Regions from separate parts of the Homo sapiens genome. Here region 1 is linked to region 2. Evidence: promoter capture Hi-C in human tissues and cell types (Jung and others, 2019). All regions are on one chromosome and are shown on one strand. The core of a region is centred on a gene start or on the middle of the fragment in contact, and the rest is flanking DNA. Distances in the headings are between cores, read along the strand shown.

Region 1 (7,469 bases), core at 2,120-4,619, 1.1 Mb before region 2:
ATGTTTCTTTTGTCTAATTTACAAATCAATATCGGTATTTGAAGCAATTTAAAATATGACATATATTAGTGTTCTTTTCTACTCTTGCTTTTTTGAGGAGTATAAATGTATTTAAAGTACTCACACTTAAAAATACAGAAACACTCTCTAAACAGGGTTCAGTACAGAGTGCAGGAGGAAATCATTATGTGGTAATTAAAGTAAGAATCAGGAAGGAAAGAAGGAAGGAAGGAAGAAATATTTATGCTCCGCAGCAATGTAAAATATAGGGCAATTAAGTGGATTCTCTATTGTAATAGGTTGTGAATTTATCACTTTTCCTACAGAGGCAAGATTTAAACATTATCATAGGATACAAAAAAATTCAATATTTTATATTAAAGTCTCCTAGAACTCCAATTTTCTACCAACAGGAAGAAAATTACGTAGAGAATGAAAACGAAAAACCACTTTTTGCTTGCAGGTACTCAGGATTTAATCTTAAGGACAAAAGATAAATGTATTATGACTACCTGAAGCACATATCAAGGGAATTTTTTTTGAGGAAAGAAATGCTGAGTGAAGAGAAGGGAATTAATATGAAGACCATCAGAGAGATTCTTGGCTCTCAAACTTGAAGGAAGTAGAGTCCATTGATAAAGCAGGAAGAGGTCATATTTGGTATATTAGTTCATTCTCATGCTGCTATGAAAAAAATACCCAAGACTGGGTAATTTATAAAGAAGAGAGGTTTAATTGACTCACAGTTCTGCATGGCTGGGGAGGCCTCAAGAAACTTATAATCATGGTGGAAGGCACCTCTTCACAGAGCGGCAGGAGAAAGAATGAGTGCCAGCAGGGAAATGCCAGACACTTATAAAACCATCAGATCTCATGAGAACTCACTCACTATCATGAGAACAGCATGGAGGAAACCTCCTCTATGATCCAATCACTTCCCACTAGGGCCCTCCCACAACACATGGCGATTATCTTGAATTGTAGTAATTCAAGATGAGATTTGGGTGGGGACACAGGCAGACCATATCATTTGGCAACCTTGAATTTGTAGATGAGGGAGCTCAGCTGAAAGATTAAGTAAATAGTTAAATCTCCAAGATATTTGGTTTCCATCTGAAGCTCTTCACCATATGTATCAGATCAGTTATGTGCACAGTTTCATTTTTTTCTTTAAAGTGGGCTAAGAATTTATCAGACCCCTGCTGTATCTTTCATAAAAGCAGAGAAATGCACCAAATAAAGAACACAAATACTGACCGACTTCTGGCGGTGCTGGCATTACAATATTGCTCTGGCTTTTCATTAATTTCAAGTTGGTTTATTCAGTTCTGCATGTTCCAGAGCCTTTCACCTTCAGTGTTTTCACCAAACTTATTAACAGGAGTAGAATCAACAGGTTTGGCTATATCTCTTCTCTTCCCAGAGTATGCCAGAGGTAATAATAAAAACTAACTTCATTTCAAAGGATACTTCAGGGGAAAGAAAAGAAAAGCAGGGGTGTACATCATCTTTTGGTTTGATAAACTAATTCCAAATAAATGGAAGTTGGCTGGAGACCTTCATTTGAAACAATAAGGATACATATTCTCAAAGGCTAGCCCAAGCCTATGGACAGGATCCTTTGCTATTAAAGACCCACAGAGATGATGATATCTAGTTATCAAACTGCAGCATACTCTGGAATATGCTCTATAATACAAGGTCAATTTCTTTTAGAAGTTAGATATTAGTTAAACCTTGTGGTTTTCTAATTAAAATGTCCTGATGACTTCCTTTGACAGTAGTGATAACAGAATATTCTCATATAGACCTTCAGCATAACTTTTAAATTTGGCCTTCAAATGTAATATACAACAGTACAAGATTGCTAAAAAAAATGCAGAATATCCTGTTTATCTTTGCTCTCTAGTCTCCTTTTTCTTTTCTTAAAACAAAGGACTTGGGTTATCTACCTAAGGTCATCATAGCACTGTATTTTTTTTTCTTTAACATCCATATGCATGTGAGCCATTTAAAAGATTAAAATGTAAACAAAACTAAATACTTAGAAAAGCTTTTGATCCTCTGCATTTGTAAACATTTCTAAGAAACCTCACTTGGGACTCTCCTAGATATTGCAGGCATGGTTGAAGCAGTAAAATTCAGTTCTTAGCATGACTGGGAGAAAGGAAAGAGCATCATTTTACAAGTGAAAAAGAAGGCATTATTAACAGTCCAAAATTAGAGAACTGAACACTTTTCTGAGCAATTTTCCTATCCACAAACTGTGGGACCATATAATTAGTTATTTTATCAGACTTGACTTTATCAATAGCCACACACAAAAAGGTACAATTTAAAATGTGAATAAATGTGAATGTTTGTTGATTATAGAGCATCAATAAAAGTAAAGTTGCTTTAGATTGCTGGATATTATACTTATTTATATTTTGAACCCCCAAAATATAAGAATGAATACTGGTAAAACAAATGCTTACTTTTAAGCAATATTTTGACAAAGACTTCTGAAGAATCAAATTGTAGACCCCAAAGGTTTTATGTAGCAAGAGGAGTCAATTATACTTTAATAGCATATCTTTAAGAAAAACATCCCTTGCAAAGAAGATAGAATCAGTTTTAGTAGTATACTTGCCCTTTATCACTTTGAACAAATAAAAAAAGATGTTTAACTAAGGCTGCCTTTTTTTGAAATATAACCCTTCAAGTAGTATATGTCAAGAAAAAAAGAAAGGAAGAAACAAAGGAAGGAAAACAACTTAACATTTTCTCAAGAAAATTATAATAAGAAAGATAAATATGCAGAGTGGGCAATTAGATTATTCATTCCATTGATATAACAAGAATGAGTAAGAATCAGTAAATATCGCTGGGCTACTAGTTTGTATAGGGAACTGTCCTAGGGCCTGAATAAGAGCCCACAAGAAAAAAAAAGGAGAGAAAATAAAGGAGAGAAAGGAAGGATGCAGAAAGGAAGGAAGAGAGAAAGGAAAGAGGATGGAAAGAAAGGAAGATAAAATGGGTAGAAAAAAAAATCATTCTTGCCTTTAGTCTTATAGTATAGCTGGAGAAATAAAATGTATACAAAAGAAAAAATAACAATACAAGAAAGTGAGTCCAGTGAATTGCATCAATAACATGAGCTCAGGAATACAGAAGCAAGGGATCACTTCAGGTCAAGGGGTCAAGGAAGGAGTAGAGACATAACATGATACTTTGAGTTGAAAGGAATGAAAACAGGCGGGAGATGTGTTCCAGATATTGGAGAAGAAATAACAGAGACAAAAATGTCTGATCCATGTGATCCGTTCTTGCTCAGCCACTCATACAGATGAGTGGCGTGTGTAGGTAATACCACCAGGTATGCTGGGTGGACAGGAAACCCTTCCGGCATGGAGCAAAAAATAAAGACACAGATGGATGCCTTCTGTTTTGCTAGCTTCATCCCTGTTCACTCAATGAGATAGGTCAACTTAATTTTCCAAAAGATTGTCTACAGAAATTATTGACTATTTGGATTTATGAATTTTTAAAAATTAAATCCAAGTTACAGAGGCAAGTGATGATAAACTTGTCCAGATTTGAATATCTAAATTGACCACACCCTCACCCCAAGTCAAATCACTTTGGACTACAAGTCATGAACCCAGAGCAGGCAATTGCTCCAGAGGCTCTGAAGCTCCTCCTTGGAACTGTCCTCAGAGCCAATTTAGAGAAACAATCTGCCCCATTGCCGCCCAGGCATGTTTCACTTTTTTGACCAAAAATGGCATCACCCAGATTAGAGACCCACCTTAGTCATGGTATTTGGCTGCAAGGGACTTTGGTTGCATCCAAAACAAAATCCTCCTTCAAAAAGAGATTTGCCACCACAGGAGATAGTCAAAGAATGAGCTGCAGGCTCTGACGTTAATTCCAAGGTATCCATTTCAGAAATATTTAAGGTATGACAGCATTCTTAGGAAAGTTGTATGTACTTCCCAAATGACAACCTTAAAAGGGACAGAGTGCTTTTGCATTTGGGTTTTGGTTTCTCTCTTGAAAAAGATTCAGTCATATTGAGATGTTGTTGACATAGCAACTGAACATGCAAAATTTGAATCAGGCTGCTTGGATTCGAATCCTAGCTCCTCCATTTACTTGCCTTACTCTTAATTTGCCTTACCTTGATTTTCCATCTATAAAATGGGAATGATGAAAATAGTAATGTACTTCATTCAGTTGGTATAATTATCCCACTCATAATACCTGCAAAGTGTTTAAACTAGTACCTGACACATAGTAAGCACTCCTAATCCTAATATGGTAGTAGATATTAATGTAACAGTTTAGATTGGGGCAGTTTTTCTAAGGACAAATTCATATGAAGACAGCAAAGTACTTAATGGTGTACATACTGTATTCTGTTGGCAAATAACTTTGACATCAGCCCTGTTATTTGTTATGTAAGACTGTCTCTGCCATGTTTGATTGTACTTTTCTTCAAAGAACCATCTGCATTTCTGGACAACACTCTCCATACGGACTGGTGTATTTCAACTTGAAATCAAAATTTGCCATAAGATGCATTTTTGGTTCTACCAAATGAATATAACTATACAGGCAGAGAGAGTGCAGAGAAAATGCATAATATACATGCATATCACTATATCTGTGCTAGGAGGACACGGGTGTAACTTATAATAATTATAGTTTATGATAACTATCGTATGTCTGATTAAAACCACAAAGAGCCCAGAGTCCCTTAAATCTATGCATAAAGTCATACTTCTCCCCTCCCCAACTAGTGCTCCTTAAGCTCTTCATAGTAAACCCACAATCTCCTCAAAATCTTAGTTCATAATGAGACAATGGGTCTTTGTTTAGTTTGCTTTGTCTGCCATTTCAGTTTCCCAGCATGAAGCCCTTGCTATGCTTTCATGGCTACACTTTAGCACATTAAAAATGAATGGGCAAACATTTCTTCAATCCTTTCTGCTTACAGTCTTTTAAGTTTGAAGTCCGGGATCTTTTATAAACTAAGTATATGACCTTGAGCAAGTCATTTAATATTTCTAGGTCTGTTATTTCTTCAACAAGGTAAGATAATTGAGTTATTTTAATTTTACGGTCGAAGATCCTTTTCCTTTTCTCATATCTCTTCTCACTGGATAATACCTTGGAAAGCCAAAAGCCATGTGTAATTCATTATATCCTGGTATTGGACTTTAAGTCACAGAGATGTGCACGAAGGCAGATATCACACCGTGATAGCCAAGGCAATTTCCTTTAAAACATTATTTTTTTTTCAATTTAAACCCATTATACTGTCATTTTAATTGTTTACTAAAAAAAGAAATATATTTGGTTTAAATTGCCTTTATTTAGCACAGAATCACTTGAAGGCTTTCACTTTGAACTCTATCATTTTCATGTGCTAAGGCCTCCAGGAGACACACATTCCCTGTAAAAGTGTTCACCCGGATTTTATACTCTTGTGCTGTGTCTCTGTAAGTGGGTTTTATGTTTCTTAATAATAACGCCACATCTTTTTCTTTTATAGCTCTCCCTCCTGTCGAGTTCCTAGAATTGTAGTCTAGACATAGTAGAAACTCAATAAAAGTTTTACTCATTGACAAACATCTGGGCTTTCTGCAAAGAACAACCATGGCTTAAACATTTACTAGTTACCATGGCTCAAGTAGCTGTAGAGGGGAATTTATGCCCTTGCTGCTACTGAGGTTGACATGTCTGTACTTACAAATTTCTCTGGGAACTGGTAAATTACCTTTTTGCATTTCTGATTCATCTTTTATAAAAATGAGGAGCTACCTTAAAAGATTACTCTAAACTGAGTGAGATATTATATATAAAACTTCCGGCACACGGGGTAAATAAACATATTACTGAGATATTAATACCTGGAGCACATGGCTGACTATAGTCATTTTCTAGCTGATTCAATGCTCTCAACCCTGCCCTGATTTAGGGACACACAACTCAGTTACCTTAGAAGGTATTTTGGTAAAAAGAATGGATCTGAGTTCAACTGGCCTTCAGAAGCTTCTAGAAGCTGACAAGTTTATCAGCCCCAACAAAAGCTTAGGCAAGCTAGGGTGAATTATGGCCTGGACAGTATTCCAAAAGTAACAAGCAACAAGTAATGTGAGTGGTGCATTCCATCATAAAGTAAAAAAACCTGTTTTCCTAAAGTACTGAATTAAGAGGAAAAAATAGATAAATATATATTTTACATGTAAAATAGTATATATAATAGACATAAATATCTATTTTATATAAATATATAACTATTTACAATGTATATATTTTCTCTATTTTATATACAATACATATAATATGTATTACATAATATATACAATAATATACAGTATTTTATATATAATTATATATACTTATACACACTTATATATAAGTATATGATATATCATTTATAATATATAACAATATATTTATATATACATATATGTTATTTATAATATACTATATAAAAATATATTTATATATATTACTATATATTAAAAATATTTATATATTATAGCGAGTATATATAGTAATACACAATAGAATAAATTTTTATATAATTTAATTTTAACATAATTATATAATATAGAATATATTACATAATTATATATTATAAAACAAAATTACATAATTTTGTATTACTATATTATTATAACATAATTATATTAATTATATAACGTATTAAATTTTATAATTATTTAGTATATAATTATATTTTTATTATAACATTAAATAATAAAATTATTAAAATATAATTTTATTATATATTTTCTATTTTATGTTAAAAATAGAAACTATATAAAAATATATATATTCATATATATATTTCTATTAAATGTAACTAATTCCTAACTTCATGAAAATGTTTTTGGATGAATTTTATTTTTATTATAATTAATGAGAGTTTTTTGATGGGGTGATGGCTCTCCTAGATGACCAAGGTTCTAAACACTACTTATACTGTCTAAGTTCTTGAAGCAAAAATTTCATGTTCTCCATTTCCTTGGTTCACATTTCAGAATAAATTAGAAAATAAGTAGCATACACTTTTGATTAATAAGTTTAATGATGGAAAGTCAGAGCTTCTAAAAATAACAATTATGACCATATAATTTTTATTATGTTATTTTATTACACATATATAAAATTATGGTCATAATAAAGAGCAAGCTTATAGGTGGTTTAAAAAAAGTTCACAAGAAATGACCCCAAATAAATTTCCCATTTTTTTTAATATAAAGAAACATGGTTATTTATATTTGCTTGTGTGTATAAAAAGTATTGGGAGTTTTTAAAAGATGTTTTTAAATGATGGTCCTTGTTTTAAAGGGAAATGTACAATAAAGTTTTAAACCTTGGAAAAAGAAAGGTACTAGAGTTTGTTTTTATTTATAATGAATTTTAAAAGGTATTGTTATTCCTATGGTGGTTGTTCCTTTTGGCAATACTGC
Region 2 (6,672 bases), core at 2,456-4,955:
AAGAACTATTTCACACCATATAAAATGAACTACACATGCCTTAAAGGATTAAACATACAAGGCAAAACTATGAAACAGAAGAAAATGGTGGGGACATTTTTGTGGTCTCAGGATAGAAAAAGATTTCTTAAATAAAATTCCAAGAACATAACCGTAAGGAGAAAAATCTGATTACATAAAAATCAAGATTTATGTTCAACAGACAGGCTACAGAATGGAAAGATGTTTCCAATACCCAAAAGTGACGATGGAATAGACAATGGCCTGGAATTTGATAACCAAAAAAAGGGACAAATTAGAAAAGTAGTTAAAGCATAGGAAAAGGATATTCACATAACGGGAAACCAAAATAACTCAGGATACAAAGAAATGCCCAAATTCAAATCATTCAAAAGTTCAATTTAAAACAAGAAACTACCACTTTATACCATGTGTGTGTTGGGGGCAGGGGGCGGCGGCGGCGGCAAATGTCAGAAAATTAAATAACGAGAGCAGTTAGCAGGGACATAAGATTCCCCTATCTCTGGAGATGTGGTGTACACACAGGTGTAGACATTCTGGAGAAAAGTATATCAAGCATACTCATACCTATAACCCAGCAATTTCATCCCTAACTAAGCATTCCAGAAAAATTCTCAAATTGGTTAACAGGATTGATTGACAATGTTCAGGGCAGCTTTATTGGTGACAGCTGGTGCCAATCCAAGTGTCTATTTTAAGAAAGTATTAATCAAAGAAAATGTGGAGAAAGTATACACTATGGAATTTCAGTATTGGTTAAAAGGAAATAATGTCCACACAAAATAGATATATTATAAAAAACTGTTGTCTACAGAAAAAAGTGAGAATCAGGTTTATAGCAGAATAGCACTTAAAAAAAATCACTTATTTTCAGGGCTTATAAAGAGGTCCACTCCCATCTCCACAACCAATTTTTTTAAAATTAGAAAACATAAATTTTCTGGAAACTTTGGCAAGATAGAAAAAAAAGCATTATGATGTAGCCAGAGGCTGAGAAGTGGCCCTAATGGCGTATCAGCAGGGACACCTGGGGCTCCCCTAACATAAACACTAAAATAGGAAGTTGCTACAAAGAAATTTATCCTATGATCTTTCAAAAAATTTATAGACCAATCCCTAGAAAGTGCCAAATAGAGAAAAAACAAAACAAAACAAAAACCCATGCCCTTTTGGAGAAAAAAAAAATTACTCAGTTTCTTAAATGATCTGTCAAAAAATATTACTCAGTCTCTTAAATCTTTCTTTCTCTCCTGGTTCTCTATGCTTAGTCCAGAGAAGCAAAACAGAGATTTGAGAAATAGTCCAAATCTTTCATATCAGTTTTTGAGTGAGTCTTATCTCTTTTTCTGAAACCAATTCCTCAGGCTTCTATGTCAATACTTAGGAAAACTGAGAGAAAATTACTTGCAGTTTCTCCGTCTAAGGGCTGCCCCCGCCAGAACTGCACAGAACAATTTCATATACTTTGACACTCTGGTTCTGCTGGATTAAATCCAACCTGGGGTTCGGAATGTTTCACAAGATGGGATACAAACTAAACTTGAATTTAACGAAAAATTCTGGGAACGGCTAGTGTCTTTTAAAATACAGATAGGTGTAACATTCCCTTTTGAAACTACAGATAAATTTGAGAATTGTCCTTCATTGGAGAGCATTATTACAGAGCTTAGAACATTTTGTTCCCAATATATTATAAGTGGAGTGTGGGGGTACCTGCGAGATTAACTGCACATTTTCCTAAGTTATCAAATGCTTTTCTGTGTCTGAGGAAATTAAAAGACATTTTTATTTTCAAAAATAAAGGTAGCAGTTAAGAAAAAGCAAAGCATACATATCTATGTAATATAAAAAGAGAAAGCACATACAGTGAAAGATTAACAGTTGGGACCCTCAGGTGAAGGGTATCTGCGTGTTCACTGCATGATTTTTTCCCCAATTCTTCTGTAGGTTTGGAGTTTTATATATAAAGAGTTGAGGGAAGGCTAAAGTCAACAGTTTTAATTTAGTACTCGGTCTGATGATTTGCTTCAACCTAACATCTAGCTCATGATTTAATTACTTCATTACTATACATGCCTCATGACAGATGCTCTTGTATACACAATTCAGGTAAAATTGACTTGAAGTCCACTCAGCGTCACTGTATGTCTAAAAATAAAGAAGCTTGGAAAGCCTGGATGGAACCCTGAGAGACAGGCTAGTCCCTCAAGCAGTTGCTAAAGAGTTGAGCGGTTTCTTCTGAAGTTCAAGATAACACTACCGAAGAATGTTATCACCGCCTCGTTCTACAATTCGCTCAAGTGAATCCTGCTAAATCTTTGCTCTTCTCACGAGTCAGACCTACTGCTATTAGTGGAAACTACTTATGAAATGAATTTTATTTCTAAATTTCTAATCATCTTGCAATGCAATATTAGGCATTGTCCTCTCGGTCCGCTAACCTGATCAAACTGGGGTCCCTAAATCCAAACACGCACATACAGCGTGTCTTCTAGTACACAAAAAAATTTCCAAGTAGACAACCCATTGTTATCTCCTTGGTTTACTTCCTTGCTTAAAAACAAAAAAACAAACCCAGATGGCTACCATATACGCTGATAAATGATTCTGGTGTGTGTTGTTCTATAAAGAGAGCGGATTTGAAATGAGTGAATCGCTGAGTCCCGCGATGAGACAGGGTCTGCATTTTGCTCTTAAAATCTCGGGGGCGTCAGGACCACATCCCAGCTGAGCAGGCTGAGACTGCTGAGGAGTGCGGACGGGCGAGGAGGGGACGCGGAAAGGAGGGAGCGGCGACAGGCGACCCGTCCGGCACGGGTCCCGGCGGTGCCCGGTCCCCCCGGGCTCCAGGCCGCTCGCCCCCCGCCCCTCCCCTTCGCTCCCCGCACAGCTCTCCCGCCCCTCCCCACCCGGCTCCCTCAAGTCTCCACGAACGGAAATGGGAGTCACAGCGCCGGGGACCAGCGGAAACAAAACACAGAGGCGGCCGCGGGGGGGCCCTTGTGGGGGAAAAGGCCCCGGAACGAGGCCGGCCCGCGAGGGCCCGCGCTCCCCTCCTCCCCGGCGGCCGCACTCACCCACTCCGGAATCGGCCCTGTCGCCCCCGCCCGCACTCCAGAGCCGGCTGAGAACGGCAGCGGCGAGGGCTCCACGTGCAGCGTCTCTCCGGGTAAGACCTGCAGCTCCCGCGACTAGAAGTGTGAGGTCCCAGGGCCCTTCCCGCGGAATCGGCGCTGAGAAGCCCCAACCCCCCTCCCGCCTCCCAGGCACCTTCGGGTCCAGGACTACAACTCCCGGCAGGGTGCGCAAAACGACCGCCCAAGGCAACGGAGGCTCACGAGGTACAAGGAAGCACAACGCCCCAATCCGCTTTGTTTTACACAGTCTCACTTTCCCTGCACCTTTATACACTTCGATAACCCTAACGAACAGGACGCTGACTCGGAGGGGAGCTTGAACTAGGGGAAAGGCCACTCAAAGAGCGCATGCGTACAGAGCAAGGTTTCAAGGAGGGGAAAAAGAACGGGTCAAATTAGGCGAAGAAAAGATGGCGGAGGCTGTGCCAGGGGACCCGGAAGCACTTACCCTCCACTTCCTCCTCCTGTTTGGCTTCTGTCTCACCTAGACCCGTCCGGTCGCAGACTGTCTCCGAGACGCTTCCTGTCCGGTGAGCGTCGACCGACTGAAACGGCGGCCCATAATGCATTGCGATGGCGGGTAGGCGTGTGGGGGCGGAGCCAGGGCCGGAAGTAGAGCGGAGGTGGTGGCGGCGGAGGCTTTGGCAGCTCGGGACTGAGTGCAAGGTGACTGGGAGGGTAGCTAGATCAGCGTGGCCTTTTGGGACTCCAGTTCTGGGTTTTTTCACGAGGCCTGGGCTGCCTCTCACCTTTACTAGGAGGAGAGAGCAGCTCTGTGTCCTGGGGACCTTCACGGCCTGGCCCGGGGTCACAGCTGACCTCTACGTTTGTAGACCTTGGAGTTTGCCGTAGACCCAGAAATAAGATCGATACCCTCTCTGAGGGCAAATCGGGGCGGCGCGGGGGGCAGGGAGGCCCGGGGGTCTCGGGCCCGCAGCCTGGCTGGGGCAACCCAAGGTCAGGCGCGCGGGAGAGATTTTCGGCCAGGCCTACCCGCCCCGGGCGCACGGGAGCGTCTAGGCTACTTAGGCAGAACGTGTACCATTAAGAGGGAAAAAATTAGTCATAATATTGAAAGTTTGCATCCCACCTAAAAACGATGGTGCTAACACTTCATTAGGCGACTTTATGGATTGTTCATAGGAATATGCACTGAAGAGGCAGCGAACCTACTAACCTTTGGCCGGTCAGTCATCACTATAAATAGAACCATGCTCCCACCCAGAACAAGGCCTCTGCTCAGACTAGTGTTTTCTTACTGTTGCCTTCCCCAGTCTTTCTGATCATGTCAGACGCTATCATATGCTCTCGTGGCACCCGATGGTACTGGAATAGAGAATTTATGTCAGGTGGTATTTCACAGCTATTTGTGTAATGACTATCTTCTGCGTTTTAGTGGACAATATGCATTCACTAATCAGTGAAAAAAAATGAAAGGGATTAAAGGAGAAGGAACAAGTTTTGATATGGGATTATGTGTTCGTTTTTTGGATGAGTTCGTAGGACTTATAAGGGAGATGAGAACTGTTGAATGCTGTGGATAGATTTGGGGCTCAGGATGAATACTAAAATTAGAAATGCGATTGGGGAATCATAGGCACTTACATGGTGGATAATTGAAACAATGAAAGTGGATTTTACCCGTGTTGCAGAAGGAGTAACATCTATGCAGTCAGACTTAGAGCAAATTAACTGTGAGAATACGTGCAGCTTAATCTTTCTTAGATACAGTTTTATCATCTGTAAAGCAGGGATAAGAACACTTTAACTCTTTGAGAGTATTGCTGTAAGGGTACAAGGAAAGGATATATATGGAAGTACTTTGCACAGTATCTAGGGCTAAGCAAATGTCGGGTGAACCTATTGCTGAATGTTAAGCATGTCCTTAGTTTGCCAGAAGGGAAAGTGGCATTGAATTGCACAATTTTTTTTTTTGCATATATGTGTTAAGTTAGATTTTGCTGTGTAACTTTGACCAGATACTTTTTTTTTGAGACAGAGTCTCGCTCTGTCGCCCAGGCTGGATTGCAGTGGCACGATCTCTGCTCACTCCAAGCTCCACTTTCCAGGTTTACGCCCTTCTGCCTCAGCCTCCGGAGTAGCTGGGACTACAGGTGCCCGCCACCACGCCTGGCTAATTTTTTGTATTTTTCAGTAGAGACCGGGTTTCACCGTGTTAGCCAGGATGGTCTCGATCTCCTGACCTCGTGATCTGCCCGCCTCGGCCTCCCAAAGTGCTGGGATTACAAGCGTGAGCCACCGCGCCCGACCACTTTGACCAGATACTTCTAATCCTCAGTTTCTGTGTGTTTAAACATAGGAATGATAATAAGTGGCACATGACCTTGTGAGGTCATTTGTTGTTTGCTTGTAGCCTTTTCTCAAGTATTTTTCCCTGATGGGGTATAAAAGTGATATGTTATGAATTCTTTAATTTCTTCAAACAGTTTGCTTTCATTCTGTCAGGTGAAGCATATTTTGTTGATTGCATTGATAGTAGGATTTCTTTTTTTTTTTTTTTTTTTTTTTTTTTGAGACAGAGTTTCACTCTTGTTGCCCAGGGTGGAGGAGTGCAGTGGCGCGATCTCGGCTCACCGCAACCTCCGCCTCCTGGGTTCAAGGAATCTCCTGCCTCAGCCTCCTGAGTAGCTGGGATTACAGGCATGTGCCACCACTCCCGGCTAATTTTGTATTTTTGGTAGAGACGGGGTTTCTCCATGTTGGTCAGGCTGATCTTGAATCCCTACCTCAGGTGATCCACCCACCTTGGCCTCCCAAAGTGCTGGGATTACAACAAAGTGCTGGGATTACAGGCGTGAGCCATCACGCCCGGCCTGATTGTAGGATTTCTTTCTTTCTTTTTTTTTTTTTTTGAGACAGGGTTTCACTCTGTAACACAGGCTGGAATGCAGTGGTGCAATCACAGCTCACTGCAGCTTCTACCTCCCAAGCTCAAGTGATCCTCCAGCCTCAGCCTCCCAAGTACCTGGGACTACAGGCACCCACCACCGCACTTGGCTATTTTTTTTTTTTCTGTAGAGATGGGGTCATACTGTGTTGCCCAGGCTGGTCTTGAATTCCTGGGCTTAAGTGATCCTCCTGCCTTGTTCTTCCAAAGTGCTGGGATTACAGGCATGATCCGCTGCACCTGGCTCATTGTAGATTTCTTTTGATAATTTTTACATGCCATTCCAGAGTTTGTCAACCTTGGCATTATTGACATTTTGACCAGATAATTCTTAGGGGTGGGAGGGCTGTTATTGTCGTTATAGTGTTTGGCAGCATTCCTGGCTTTGTACTCATTATAAGCCAGTAGCACTCAGCTTGGTGAGAACAACCAAAAATGTCTAAAGACATTGCCAGATGTCTCCTTGGAGAGAAAAAAACTCACTTCTTCCCCCACCCCCAACCCTATTTTGAGAACTATTGTGCGACTCTACAGTTTTCTAGCTAGTGCTGCTCAAACTCTGAGTGGTAAAGGGCCATTCTCACACCCACTCCTGTGGACACTTTT

Evidence for each region. The method cuts DNA at HindIII sites, captures the fragments that hold promoters and counts their contacts. A contact is called where the count stands out against the background at its distance.
Region 1: a contact is called between a fragment that was not itself captured here and the fragment with the promoter of GABPA in region 2, in 1 of the 25 tissues and cell types used here (stomach).

The regions. Positions count from the first base shown.
Region 1 is chr21:26,816,507-26,823,975 of GRCh38, reverse strand. No RefSeq gene overlaps it. Among named protein-coding and RNA genes, the nearest start is that of ADAMTS1, 25 kb to the left of the region's middle. RefSeq lists an enhancer at 4,589-5,210. The HindIII fragment of the contact is 6,528 bases long and covers 106-6,633 here.
Region 2 is chr21:25,732,005-25,738,676 of GRCh38, reverse strand. GABPA (GA binding protein transcription factor subunit alpha) reads right to left here and starts at 3,705. Exons shown (of 10, transcript NM_002040.4): 1 at 3,099-3,705. ATP5PF (ATP synthase peripheral stalk subunit F6) reads left to right here and starts at 3,773. Exons shown (of 4, transcript NM_001003703.2): 1 at 3,773-3,824. RefSeq lists silencers at 2,712-2,921, 2,982-3,121, 4,062-4,161 and enhancers at 3,622-3,741, 3,762-3,871, 3,298-3,953, 4,272-4,351, 5,644-6,481. The HindIII fragment of the contact is 8,192 bases long and covers 1,044-6,672 here.